3 separate regions of the Homo sapiens genome follow, and regions 1 and 2 are each linked to region 3. The links are contacts of gene promoters, found by promoter capture Hi-C in blood cells and fetal thymus (Javierre and others, 2016). All regions are on one chromosome and are shown on one strand. Each heading gives the region's core, a stretch centred on a gene start or on the middle of the fragment in contact. The rest is flanking DNA. Distances are from core to core; before and after follow the strand shown.

Evidence for each region. Contacts are between HindIII fragments. The CHiCAGO score rates a contact against its expected background, and 5 or more counts as called.
Region 1: a contact is called between a fragment that was not itself captured here and the fragment with the promoter of CPVL-AS1 in region 3, in 1 of 17 cell types (endothelial precursors). The highest score is 5.0, in endothelial precursors.
Region 2: a contact is called between a fragment that was not itself captured here and the fragment with the promoter of CPVL-AS1 in region 3, in 1 of 17 cell types (megakaryocytes). The highest score is 5.5, in megakaryocytes.

What each region holds. Positions count from the first base shown.
Region 1 is chr7:29,388,919-29,393,104 of GRCh38, forward strand. All of the region lies in intron 3 of CHN2 (chimerin 2), which reads left to right. Among named protein-coding and RNA genes, the nearest start is that of PRR15-DT, 170 kb to the right of the region's middle. The HindIII fragment of the contact is 1,342 bases long and covers 2,055-3,396 here.
Region 2 is chr7:29,407,610-29,412,067 of GRCh38, forward strand. The region is part of intron 6 of CHN2 (chimerin 2); the gene reads left to right. Among named protein-coding and RNA genes, the nearest start is that of PRR15-DT, 150 kb to the right of the region's middle. The HindIII fragment of the contact is 5,269 bases long and covers 1-4,427 here.
Region 3 is chr7:29,077,951-29,082,219 of GRCh38, forward strand. It overlaps CPVL-AS1 (CPVL antisense RNA 1), which reads left to right and starts at 2,334. Exons shown (of 3, transcript XR_001744918.2): 1 at 2,334-2,378; 2 at 3,391-3,528. The region is part of intron 7 of CPVL (carboxypeptidase vitellogenic like); the gene reads right to left. The HindIII fragment of the contact is 9,422 bases long and covers 740-4,269 here.

The DNA of each region.
Region 1 (4,186 bases), core at 1,476-3,975, 310 kb after region 3:
TTGAGATGTAACTATAAAGTCATAACATGGATGTTATTTTAACACATCTGTTACATGGGCCTGGTCCCTTCCCTTCAGTCACCTTGGGAAGCTCTGCTTTCATTTCTGCCAAGTTCCCATTGCTCAGAGCGTGTTGGGAACGTCTCTTCTAAAATTCCCATTGCTCAGAGCATGTTGGGAACGTCTCTTCTAAAATTCCCATAGCTCAGAGAGTGTTGGGAATGTCTCTTCTAATATTCCCGTTGCTCAGAGCGTGCTGGGAACGTCTCTTCTAAAATTCCTTCAGAGCAAGTCACAATGAAAATCTTATTCTCTTATGATCATGCCTCGTTTTTGTCTCGAATGTTTTTCCTAGTTTGGTCACTCACCCCGTTTACTTACTGGTCTTGGCTCCAAATAACTTATGCCGGTTTGCTGAAATAACATGCACTCTCAAATCCATTCTCAAAAAAGTAAATGTATGTATATTTCTACATACAGTGATTCTGACTTTAGTATATGCTTTAAAATCATCTAGGGGGCTTGATTAAATTACACGTCATACCTCTACCCTCAGTAATTTTGGTTCAGCTGGTTCGAGATGGGGATGCTGTCTGCAGTCTTCAACAAGCATCTTGAAGTTTCTGTTTTGAATGACCAGTCCACACTGGTCATTTTGAGAAGTGTACCTTTAAGGATATTCACAAGAAAGGGTGGTATATATTAAGGTAGTTCCAAAACAGAAATTCCAAAAATGTTCTGGTCAACAGGGATATAAGTGGCATGTATTGTGCCTCCTTGGGGTGACTATTCTCTTGTAGATGATGCTTATTTAGAATAAAATGTTCAGTTTTATTTTTAAAAAGAATCAGCCGGCCAGGCACGGTGGCTCATGCCTGTAATCCTAGCACTTTGGGAGGCTGAGTTGGGCAGATTGCCTGAGCTCAGGAGTTCGAGACCAGCCTGGGCAACATGGTGAAACCCCCGTCTCTACTAAAATACAAAAATTAGCCAGGCACGGTGGTATGCGCCTGTAATCCCAGCTACTCAGGAGGCTGAGACAGGAGAATCATTTGAATCCGGGAGGTGGAGGTTGTAGTGAGCTGAGATTGCCCCACTGCACTCCAGCCTGGGCAACAGAGCGAGACACTGTCTCAAAAAAAAAAAAAAAAAGAATCAGCCACCATTCTGCATGGTCACACCATATACAGTGAAACCCTCTGTGCCTTGGGAAGGACCCATTTCATGTGTTTTCTCACTCAATGACCTCCTACTTGGTGCTCTCCCTCTGTAAAGAGAGGTGTTCCTTTTTGAGCCAGCTGGATCATCTAAGGACCCAGTATTAGAAGAACTAGTAATCCGTGTAACACGACTACATATTTTCTTTCTCTTAAAAAGAATGAGCTGCTTTCACTTCTTGGAGTCAGAGCACTAAATCCCAAGAGCAGACATGGCCGATCCGACAGCCGTCAGTCCTACTCACAAAGGCCAGGTTCACCAGGTGATGGATTGACCAGCTGCAGCTGCTGTCCTAGGATAGTCACAGTGGCAGGGAAGCTCCAGAACCAGTCTTCATTCTTGTCATGATATATTGCATTTTCCATTCCTTTCTGAATCCATGTGACTGCCTAAATTTTTTTATTAAGTTGCCTGATTTTAACAAACATAGTTTTCAATGAGAATGCAAGAAGAATTTCTGAGTTGCCTTACTTTTTATTTATCAACTATCCTGTCGCCTTCACACCTACTGAAGAGAATCTCATACAATTGGAAACAGAAATTGAGTTACAGTTTCTTTAATTAAATTCAGTTTCACAGGTGGGTCCTGGTTTCCACTGATGGCCAACACGGAGCCTTGCCCAGGGAGTGAGTCAGGCTTCTCTAAGGCACTGCTGGGGGCACAGCACGGAGGTTCTTAGTCTCTTGGCAGACCTTTGTCCCTGGGAGCCCTAGCCCCCAGCCACCTATTCTTTCTGGATCTGAGGATCCAGTATTATCCACCTTGAAGAAATGTAGACGTTGTATGATTTGTATAGCACCATTTAACTTAAACATTAAGCTCTTTACTGGTTTAAAGCTTAGTGAAGTATAGAAATAGAGACTGTGTTTAGACTCCTGTGAGTAAAAAGTTTACAAAAAGAAGAGGATTTTGTTTTTTTGATCCCAGCCTCTCTCTCTCTCTTTGACATTAACAAGGACACATATATTTTCTTTACGAGCTTCAGAGACAAAAAAGGAAGGAGAGATTGGATTGCTATCAAAATGGCCCTCAACCAGTAGAAGCAGTTATCAGATGGCCAACCACATCCTCTATCTTTACTCTCTCTTACTTCTGTCTTTCCTATCCCCTACATAGGGTTGCCAGATTTAGGAAAGAAAGAGAGAGTGGGGAAGAGAGGGAGAAAAGGAGAGAGGGAGGGAGGTAGGAAGGGAAGGGAAGAGGAAGGGAGGGGAGGGGAGGGGAGGGGAAGGGAGGGTAGAAGGGAGGAAGGGAGGGGAGAAGAGAGGAAGGGAGAGAGGGAAGGAGGGACCAGGATGCCTAGTTAAATTTAAATTTCAGATATACAAGGAATCATGTATTAGTATATATCTCATGCAATATTTGGGACGTATTCCATGGCCCTCTTCCATGCCTGTCCCACACAATTCAGGGCTCTTCTTTTATTTTCTAGTGGTTTTCATTTTCAGAAGATTTGTCCCTCAATTGGATCAAACTCTCTTCTGGGCAGAATCTTATCTGGCATCTTTCAAGGCACCCTAAATATCAGCTTCCCTCTTTGGGGGTCTATGTTAGATTTCTCCTTAAGCGTTTCCCTCTGCTGCAAGTGCAGAACACCCCTGAGCGCCTCATACCTTTCCTCTCTGCACCTGCAAGGTCATTACTTCATGCACATGGCTGGCCTGAGCCTAGAGCCCAGAACATAAGGGTGCTGTGTATTTTTATCATTGGTTGATGAACTGAAAGCAATTTGTTGTCTTGTTAAGAATCAATTAAATTCAGCATCTATTAACTGTTTACCTGCATGCCAAGAGTTAGTAGTATTACCATGTGGCTCATCTGGGAAGTTAGATTAGTAACTCTTTCTCTTTTAGGGAAATAAGAAGATACAGGAAGGGAATAGGGTTGAGAGCTACACCCAGATTTTGCAAACTTGTGCTACGGTTCAGCCAAAAAGATGGAAATTTAAAAATCGTCCTCATATGTAGAGAATCACTTCAAATTTTGGAATATCGCCTCTCAAAGAATGGAGATTTTGCCATTATATATCCTCAACTTTCATTGGCTTTTCTAGTTCTAAATTTCTTCTCTGGCATGTTGGTTTTACAGTCACATGTCTATAATATTATAAAACTAAAAAAGAACTTTGAAAGCCGAAAGACTGATATAAATGACAACATATTCAATTCTCATTAAAAAGCTTACCAGCCTGTAGAATAATGGCACACATCATTTATAGAAAGGATATCAGATAACCAGGTGCCTTTTTACACACTTTCTGCTTCTATTAATGATATTATTTAAATCTTCCTTCACAAATGACACCGAGCAGGCTTTGAACCTTGAAGATTAAGTTATGGATGTCCTGCTTGGTTGAGTAATTCTCAGGTGTAAAATGCACAGGAGAGTGAACACATATTTAGAAGTGTCTAGATGATAAGTTTTGTACCAGCGAGGCTTGTCCTAGGCAGCATTGTGAGTGTGGTCCCCAAAGCCCCAGCTCCGCCTTTCTGAGCCTCTTCCCCTAGCTCCTAGTGTCCTGTTACCTATTCAGATCTGCATCCCTTGGAGGATGGAGCTAGGCCAGGAAACTGCCCCATATCATGAAATCCTGCTACTGTGCCTGTCTCTGAGCCCTGCTGTGAAAACTGTCCATTTGACTCTAGGAAGAAATGACTGTGAATAAAACAGCTGCCAAGCTCGTATCCTACAACAGTGAATAAACATAAACTTGCTGTCATACATAGAACCATTCATAAAAACCCATAACTTAATGTGGCTCTACAATGTTTTGAGTGTCCCTGGAGTTAGGAGAGAAGAACAAAGGCCGAGCATGAGAAATCATGTCACTTTCTCACCAACTCCAACATCATAAACATGTGAAAACAAAGCTCTTATGAAAGCAGATGATCATGTATGTGAGAAAAATCAGATGTGATAACCTCAAGGCTAAAGCTGTGATTGAAAGATCCTTTCTGGAATGTTTGT
Region 2 (4,458 bases), core at 543-3,042, 330 kb after region 3:
AGCATAACTTAGCTATTATAGTAGGTGACAGGTACCCTGATGATGCTGACCAGCCGACTTGCTGCCCTTGCACGCAGTCATAAAATGGGGTGGGATAGGATGCAGTGAGAATGGATTTAACTTAGATTACATCCGCTCATGAGACTGGGTTTTGCCAAGCATTGTTTTAAACCAGAATTCCCTAATGATTTGGGATTTATCACTCAGTCTGAGCAATTGCTGATTTGGTTGGCTTGGTGGTTCTCAAACTGACTGAAGGTTGGACTCACTCTGGGAGCTTTTAAAAAAATGCCCATGGCCGGGCTTGGTGGCTCATGCCTGTAATCCCAGCACTTTGGGTGGCAGAGGCTGGCGGATCACTTGAGGTCAGGAGTTCAAGACCAGCCTGGCCAACATGGTGAAACCCCATCTCTACTAAAAATACAAAAAAATTAGCCAGGCACTGTGGCACATGCCTGTAATCCCAGCTACTCTGGAGGCTGAGACAGGAGAATCACCCGAACTCAGAAGGCGGAGGTTGTAGTGAGCCCAGATCACACCACTGCACTCCAGCCTGGACGGCGGAGTGAGACTCAGTATCAAAAAAAAAAAATAAATTAAATTAAAAAATATATATTAAAAATGCCCATGTTTGACCCCACCTGCCTATGGAATCAAAGTCTTCACTGGTGAAAGGCACCTGTCGGTCTTTTTTGGCTCCTCAGGTGATTGTCAAGTGCAGGGCTTGAGAACCTGGGTTAGATGGAAGGGGAGACGAGAGTAAAGGTGATCAGACATTTTGGAGCATTTTCTTTCAAGGACACCTGTCTCACTTCTTCCCATGCCTCTTATATTCCTGAGGCTCTTTTATGTTGTAAATTAGACCCTAGCCTTCTTTCTCTACTTTTACACAACACGTGAGAAGTCCTCTGGGGAAACATTCTTCACACAGTTAACTCTGGTGGCTACAGTTACCTGTGCTGGTTCAGGGTTTGGCTTTGCTCCCTTTCCATGACTCCTTTCCCGAGATTATTGCCTGAAATATAAATGATGGGAAACAATTAACTGAAGTGGGATTAAAGAATTTAATGAAGGGGCAAGGAAAAGTTAGTCCCTCTCTCAGGGGTCAGCTAGTGGTTTCTTTGGGTGGATATTAGAAAGAATCTCTTTTTACCAGTTCCTCAATATCGGTGTTTTCAAAGAGGAACGGAAGAGGAAAGTCATCCTAATACATTCAGCGTATGGAGGGATATGATGGGCCAAACGCCAAACCCTCCTTGTCCCCATCCAAAATCTCTCTAGGAAACAGCTAATTTAGAGACACGGCTCCCGAGAAAGTATTTTCTATGCAAATAGTGCCATCTTGTGGCTGAAAGGAGAGTTACATGCTGATGACACAAAGGACCAAACCTAACGGATGTGAAAATGTGCAAGAACAAATTTTTCAGCAATGAATCCATTGAGTCATCCCACTTTCCTCAAGTTTTATAGCACAGATCAGGCTACACAGTGGCTTGGGGTGTCTGTTCTGTAGCCTGTGCTCCTTCTCTGCATAAGCACGTGGGCAGCTCTGCGGGCCTAGGACTTGTAAAAATCATCCCAGGAATCTAATTCTAGTCCAAAAGTGCTCAAACTTCTCGGCCTCAGGACCCCTCTATACTCTTTAAAGTTACTGAGGACCCCAAAGAGCTTCTGTTAATGTGGGTTAAATCTTGATATTTATGGTATTAGAAAGTAAAATAGAAAAATCTAAAATATTTATTAATTCTTTCAACATAATAGTAATAAACCTATTATGTGTTAGTATGAATAACATATTTTTGTGAAAAATAACACTGTTTTCCAAATAAAAAAGTGATGAGAATATTGGCATTGTTTTTACATTTTTGTAAATCTCTTTAGTGTCTGGCTTAAAAGAAGACAGCTGGCTTCTCACATCTGCTCCTGTATTCAACCTGGGATATATTGTTTTATTTGAAGTATAGGAAGAAGTCTGGCCTCACACAGATGTGTAGTTGGAAAAAAGAGGAGTGTTCTTATAGCCTTTTCAGGTAAATGTGGGCTTTAAAATATATACTAGACCACAATTCAACAAGTGGTAGTTTCTTAAAGGTTAGTTGCAATGTCAATCACAGAAGGCAATTACTGTAATAAAATCAGTTTTGACATCATGGACTCTCTAAAGGGATCTTGGGGATCCCCAAACATTGGTGGGCCACAGTTTGATGAAGAGCCCAGCTTTTCAAGATGTTTATATTTTGACATCTCCAGAGTGGTGTTTGAGAGGAATTGTCCCACCACTTTTATCACCTTTGACTGCAGGAGGTAAATGATGCTGTCACCTGGGACTGCTGTACACCTATGGGGACTGGGCAGGCTATGATGAGGAGGCATTCTTCTGGACCTGACCCACCAAGCGCCTGCCCTGAGCACGACCTCAGAGCTCTTCCCAGTGGCTCTCACTAGGCGGTGGGGGGACAACAGGCTGAGTCTATATGAGTTTTAATTTTAGGGATCCCTCTGGGGTTGTTGAATGTTTTTAATTTCATCGAGGCTTTTTAATCATGGGACTTTTAAATAATTTATTCTGGAAGAAAATTTTTATAATGTTTAAAACAGGGTAGTGTCTTGTTTATATTTTAGTTGGGCTTAATCGTAGGAACAGTGTTGGTAGATTTAGGGTGATTACTTTCATTTTTAAGGTGAAATTGAGCTGTTTTTGTCTTTTTAGTAATTATATGGTGGTTTTTGGCTGTGAGTAAAATATTAATGTTTGTTTATTAGTCTAGGTGGGATGATATGTTAAAAAGATAAAAGACAATAATTTGGATAAGTATTTAGGGTTCTCTTGATTAAAGGTTTTTTTTTAATTAAATAGGTTTGAGGTGAGAAATGGAGAGTATATTTGCATTATGTCTGTGGGTCATCTATTGGCACTTAGTTTTTTAATTGGTAAGCGTTGAAATAGAGACTCTTGTTTGAGGAGTCTTAGCCCCTCACCTAAATTGGGTATTTTGTTGAGTATGGGATGTGAGATTATACTTGACTTTTTTGATTTGTTTTTCTAATTAGGGGAGTTTGTCTTTTTTTGTATTTTTGTTTTTGAAGAAACTGGAGGGAAAAAGTTATAGGAGTTGATGAAAAAGTTGAAGGAGAGTGTTATTATTTTAGACCTTTGTAAGGGGAGAAAAAGTTGAAAGTAGTGAGACATAGTAAAAGTTGAACTTTTGATTTATAAATTTGAGAAGTTTTTAAAGAATGACTGTTACATATAATGCTCTAGTTATTTAAAATATTATCTAAAACTTTAAAAACACAGACTTTCCTCCTCAAATCCCTAAACTCTCCTCCCTTACTCCCTAGCCACATTAAAAATTCCCCATTTCTACTTTTTATTAAAACAAATTTTTAAAATCTTGCCTTCCCCACCTTCTTACTTTAATCAGATCAAATAAACATTTCTCTATCTCCAAACACCTGTGTATCACTATTTAACATCAACTACACACCAAGTACACAAACCTAAATTTAGACTTCAACACAAGCCTAGGGCCTGTGTCATCAGGAAACAGTTCTGCAGGTGCAATTCTGATATATATGGCCAATGAGGAGCCACCGACTGGGTCTCATTCTCTTCTCCGTACAGAGGAAATACCAAGACTCAAAGCTCAAAGTGACATTGAACAAGGAGGGTTGGAAGGAGGAAACACAATTTTAGCAGAGCCTATTATTTTCCTTCTTTGGCCTCGTACTGGGTATCACCCTCTTTGTTACCTCTCCTGGGCTTCTCCAGCTACCATCTTTGTGTCTATTTCATCAGGATGTGGCAGTCTCCCCACCCCACCCCCAGAGTGAGTAGCTGTCATTTTTGCCACCCAGAGCCACCTCAGTGTAGGAGCTTCTGGTGGAGTCATATCTGCCCACTAATCCCAGAGGTGGATTTGTGATTCAAGGCCAAGCCGAAGGACCCCGTGTCCCTGGCTAGGGTGGTTGGTTCAAGGGTGACCATGTGGTCAAGTCAGAGCCAGGGGAAGACAACAGACTTTTACCGTGAGTTCCAGGAGCCAGGCCTTTCACCCTCTTTCTGCTTGGCTCAATTAGGCAGGAAGTAGAGCCTGGGCTGCTGAAGGCTTCCCGCCACCCGATAGAGCCTGAGAATGGAGCCTGGAGAAAGTAGAGCCTGGAGATGGGGAGAGAGAAGCTGAGTCCTGAGGCCTGATCTGAGCTTCTCGCGGAGCTGCCCTTCAGCCCGCCCCCGTCTCTGGATGTTCCAGTACTGCTGGCAGTTCATTGCTGCCTTGCCTTTGAGCTGGGTAAGCAGATGTTGGTGCTGCATTTAAGTCGGCAGCTGCTATCATCCCCACAAGAACTGGAACCCACCTGTCAGCTCCCTGCCACCTCTGCTGTCCTTCATTCCCACTCACCTTACTTGTCACCATTACTGAGGAAGCTTAGCTATTCAAGTTCAGGTTCATTTTA
Region 3 (4,269 bases), core at 1,084-3,583:
ATTTTCTCTGAAGAGAGAAGTGTGGCCTTAAAATGGCCAGTTTAGAAAATTAATGAATGAGGAAAGCTGGAATTTCAGTGTTGTGGTAATCGCTATAACTTCCTAGACATTTCCAGACCATGCGTCATCTAATTTCAAGACCATACTGCTGCAATTAAAAAAAAGAGCCTTCCAACAAGAATATGACTTTATCAAAGTATCTATTTCTTTTTTAATATGGGCTTAAAAAGAAACTTGCAAAATCTACAGGCATAGACATATAGCAAAAACATTTTGATCTATAGCCAATTTTTAGTCACATAAACTTATGCAAAAATACATGCTGCTTCCCAAATGATATATTCTTATTTTCTATTGAGAAGATACTCCTTAAAAAAGAAAAAGCCATCATTGACAGGCATAGGTGAACAAGATGCATCCTTTTCCCACCTACTCTGAGTTCAGTGCCAGTTTGGAGAAATCCAGCGTGAAGCCAGGTGACTCAATGAGATGAATAAACCCTTTTGTTTAAAATGGAGACTACAGTTAATTTGACTTTTAAATAAAGAGTCTGAACACACTGGGCCGCAGTCAACAAACTGAATCTTTGTTTGCTCACTGTAGATACAATTCAGAAGGATGAAGCTGCATAATGGATGTAACTTAGCATTTCTCATTCTCAACCTAAACATCTCATCTAATCAGGTACTATTTATGTCTCTATGCTGCCTGCTCCAGCATGGTAATTCATTTCCAACAAAGCTTATAATGACTTCTGATTTACTCATATTCTTTTCTGTGCAACCTCAGTACATATGTATCGATTTGATTTGGATATGCTGTCCAAAAGCCAGAGATCCAACTTGCAAACATTTCCATATGCCCTTGTTCAGTTCTTCGGTTGCAGCTTAAACCCTGATTTTTGTAATATTAAAATCATTAAATAGTCACAAATCCATTTTCAATTCAAAAAGAAAATATTGGCAAGTGCAGATGAACATAACTGAAAATAGAGATTTGTCATAGGTTCAAGAGTTAAAACAGCTTGAATGCTATCTAATAAAATTCAGCAAGTTCCAAGCCTTGAGAAATAATTGCATTCCAAAGACTTCAAGTCCTTATATCACTTGAAACTTCCACTTACTCTATAAAACTTAATGATCAAAGCCAAGTCTTTATGATTAAAACAGTCTTGGCCAGAAAGACAGAGACATTCAAGAAGCTAGAGAACTTCTTTTCTGTTTGTGTAAGGTTAATAACCTTAGAGATTCAGCATAAAATATGGAAGGGGATGTTTGACTCCCCTTCAGACACAAAGTGAATCTGAAGCAGGTCCTAGAGACAGTGCAAGTTCAAGGTGAGAGCACCCAGTTTGGTGAACAAGCATTTTGGTGAACAAGGCTGCACCACTAGCTCATTTCTTCACCACCATCTTCAGGCCCTGGAGTCTGACTGCTTAGGTTCCAATGCTGGCTCCTCCACTTTCTGGCTGGGTGACCTTGGTAAGGCATACCTAACCTCACTAAGCCTCGGTCACCTCACCTGTAAAATGGGAAGAATAATCATAGCACCTATTTCATAAGGCAGCTGTTAGGATTAAACGAGGTAATGCATAAAACAGTGCTTAGCATGATGTCTACCATACAGTCCATTCTCAATAAATATTCTCTAGTAAAATCTACAGATAAAATACATGAACTAGATGTTCTTGAAGTATCACTTCTAGCCATCAAATTACATGATCCCAAGCCCAGGCTAACAGGATGATGGTACAGGCTTACATAGAATGCTAATAATTATAAGCCTACTTCTAGAATCGCTCTCCCACCCCACCTTGGTTGCCACCCTTCTGTTTGCATGTTAGTGCTTGAAATTACCCTATTACAAATATCTACCCATCAGGTAGGCTCTGCTCTCTACTCAAATGCAAACATGTTGAGAGTCCACCCTATTGGGTTTAATTTATCAGATCCTTTCTATGGAACAATGAGTTGACAACAAGTCAGAATGGGGGACAGAAACAGAACAATCATGATACAGATGGAAGAAGCATGGAGAAATAGAAGCTGTGCACAATAGACTGAGGAGAGGATGGCTGAGGTGGGAAGATGGCCCTGGAAAACAACGGAGGCCAAAGGAGAGTCCCCAGGGCCTGGGACATAGTACAGGGAGAGAAGGGCAATGAAAGGGAGGCGAGAGGAGCAGAAAAGATCACTATTGGGTACTGAGCTTAATACCTGGGTGATGTAATAATATGTACAACAAACCCCTATGACACGTGTTTGTCTATGTAACAAACCTTCACATGTACACCCAAACCTAAAATAAAAATTTTAAAAAAAGAAAGGGGCTGGGCGCAGTGGCTTACATCTGTAATCTCAGCACTTTGGGAGACTGAGGTAGGCAGATCACCCAGTCAGGAGTTCAAGGCCAGCCTGTCCAACATAGTGAAACCCCATCTCTACTAAAAATACAAAAATTAGGCGGGCATGGTGGCACGTGCCTGTAATCCCAGCTACTCGGGAGGCTGAGGCAGGAGAATCACCTGAACCCGGGAATTGGAGGGTGCAGTGAGCTGAGATGGCAATGCTGCACTCCAGCTTAGGCATCAGAGTGACACTTTGTCTCAAAAAAAAAAAAAAAAAAAAGTAGGTGAAAAGATGCAGGAAATAAATATCAATATTTTTATTTTATCTAAAGGCAGCCATGCATGAACTCCATTCTATAATATTCATTAAGCACCGTGCTTAGTATTGAATAAGAAACAAACATGGCTCTCGCATACTGGGAGCTTGCCACCTAACCCAATGGGCCATGATGATTTCAATAAAGGTTGTCAGACACTGTACTTCCAACAGGGACTTCACCCATGCAGATGAAGATAAAGTGTCCCATTAAGCTCCCTAATTCATTTTTAAATAGCTTCAAAGTTTTGTCTCTATTGGGTTCTCAAATAAATTATGGTTGCAAAACTGTTTATAAAGAGAGTCTGCCCGTTTTTGCTGATGGAGAAGAGATGTTCTGTTTTAACCACATGCCCTGCTAGTTTGGAAGCGTTCCCATCCACTGCCACAACCTCCCACGTGCACTGACTCTTTCCCTTGAGCGGCACATAAAGCCACAGGCTCAGAGAACAATGGGCGGTCCCCCTGATCCTGTCACCTACCTGCCTTCCCGTGAGGGCTGTTTTGCTTTAACTTCTACCTGGGCTCATGTACAATTGAGAGGATGCTAAATGTGTCCGTGCCTCAAGAACAAGGGCAATCTCACTAATAGCTACTGGCTCAGAAAGGATAACACTTATAAAGAAAGTTAATTATGGGAATTAAACACAGCTTATTTCTCTTTTTGAAGTATGTTTTTTTCATGCCTTGAGGAGGGTGATTTACAGACACATTTGTCTCTTTTTAGAGAAAATTAATTCCAGTTGGTGTTCTGGGCAGAAATGAAGAGGAGGAGGAAGAAGACAAAGCAGCTTCTCCCCTTTCCTTTGCACTGAGGGCAGGCCCACGCCACTTTCTCTGGTGTGGCCACACCATCGTCCACACGGTGAGGCAGGGAGCCTGGGGTGGGTCCTGACACATTTTGCTGCTGTCCATATAAAAAACAAGCACAACTTCTAATGTCAACTGCTAAGCTCCATTTTTTTTTAGACAAAGTAACTATTGCTTTTAAAAATGATTTCAAAATAATAGACACAGAGTAGAGGGGGAAATGCCATATCCCAGCAATGAGTTAGCGGAGCTTCTATTAACACTTCAGCTCTTGTCTCCAGGCATTAGGCTGTATGCTTGGGAGTCATAATATATTAGCCCAGCTTTTCAGCATGAATGGTAATAATAGTCATCATGTGTTGGGTACTCACCACAGCCAGTCACTATGCTAATATCTGAGGAGGGTTATCTAATTAAATGCTCAAAACAACCCTATGCAGTAGGTACTATTATTATTTCCAGACTGCTTCACACCAAATCAAGGTTCTGAACAGCTGCTCCAGACCCCTTGAGCATCAGGCTCCTCTCATTCATAGCACACAAATGTGAAGATATTTAGGTCTGGTGCATTTACATTGAAAAGCAGAAAACCATTTCTGAATTTGTGCATTTATTTTTTGAAGATGGCTCTACAAACTCAGCAGCACTATTCAGCTTTCCTAAGAGTGTGAGAAAATTAAGAGTTTAGAAGAGAAAGGAATTTTCTTTCTTGAAAAATCTAGAACAATTTTTTTTTGTGTGGTGGCAGCAGCGAGAGGGAAAATGGGTAGGTATTACGTTAAAACTGCAATTACAT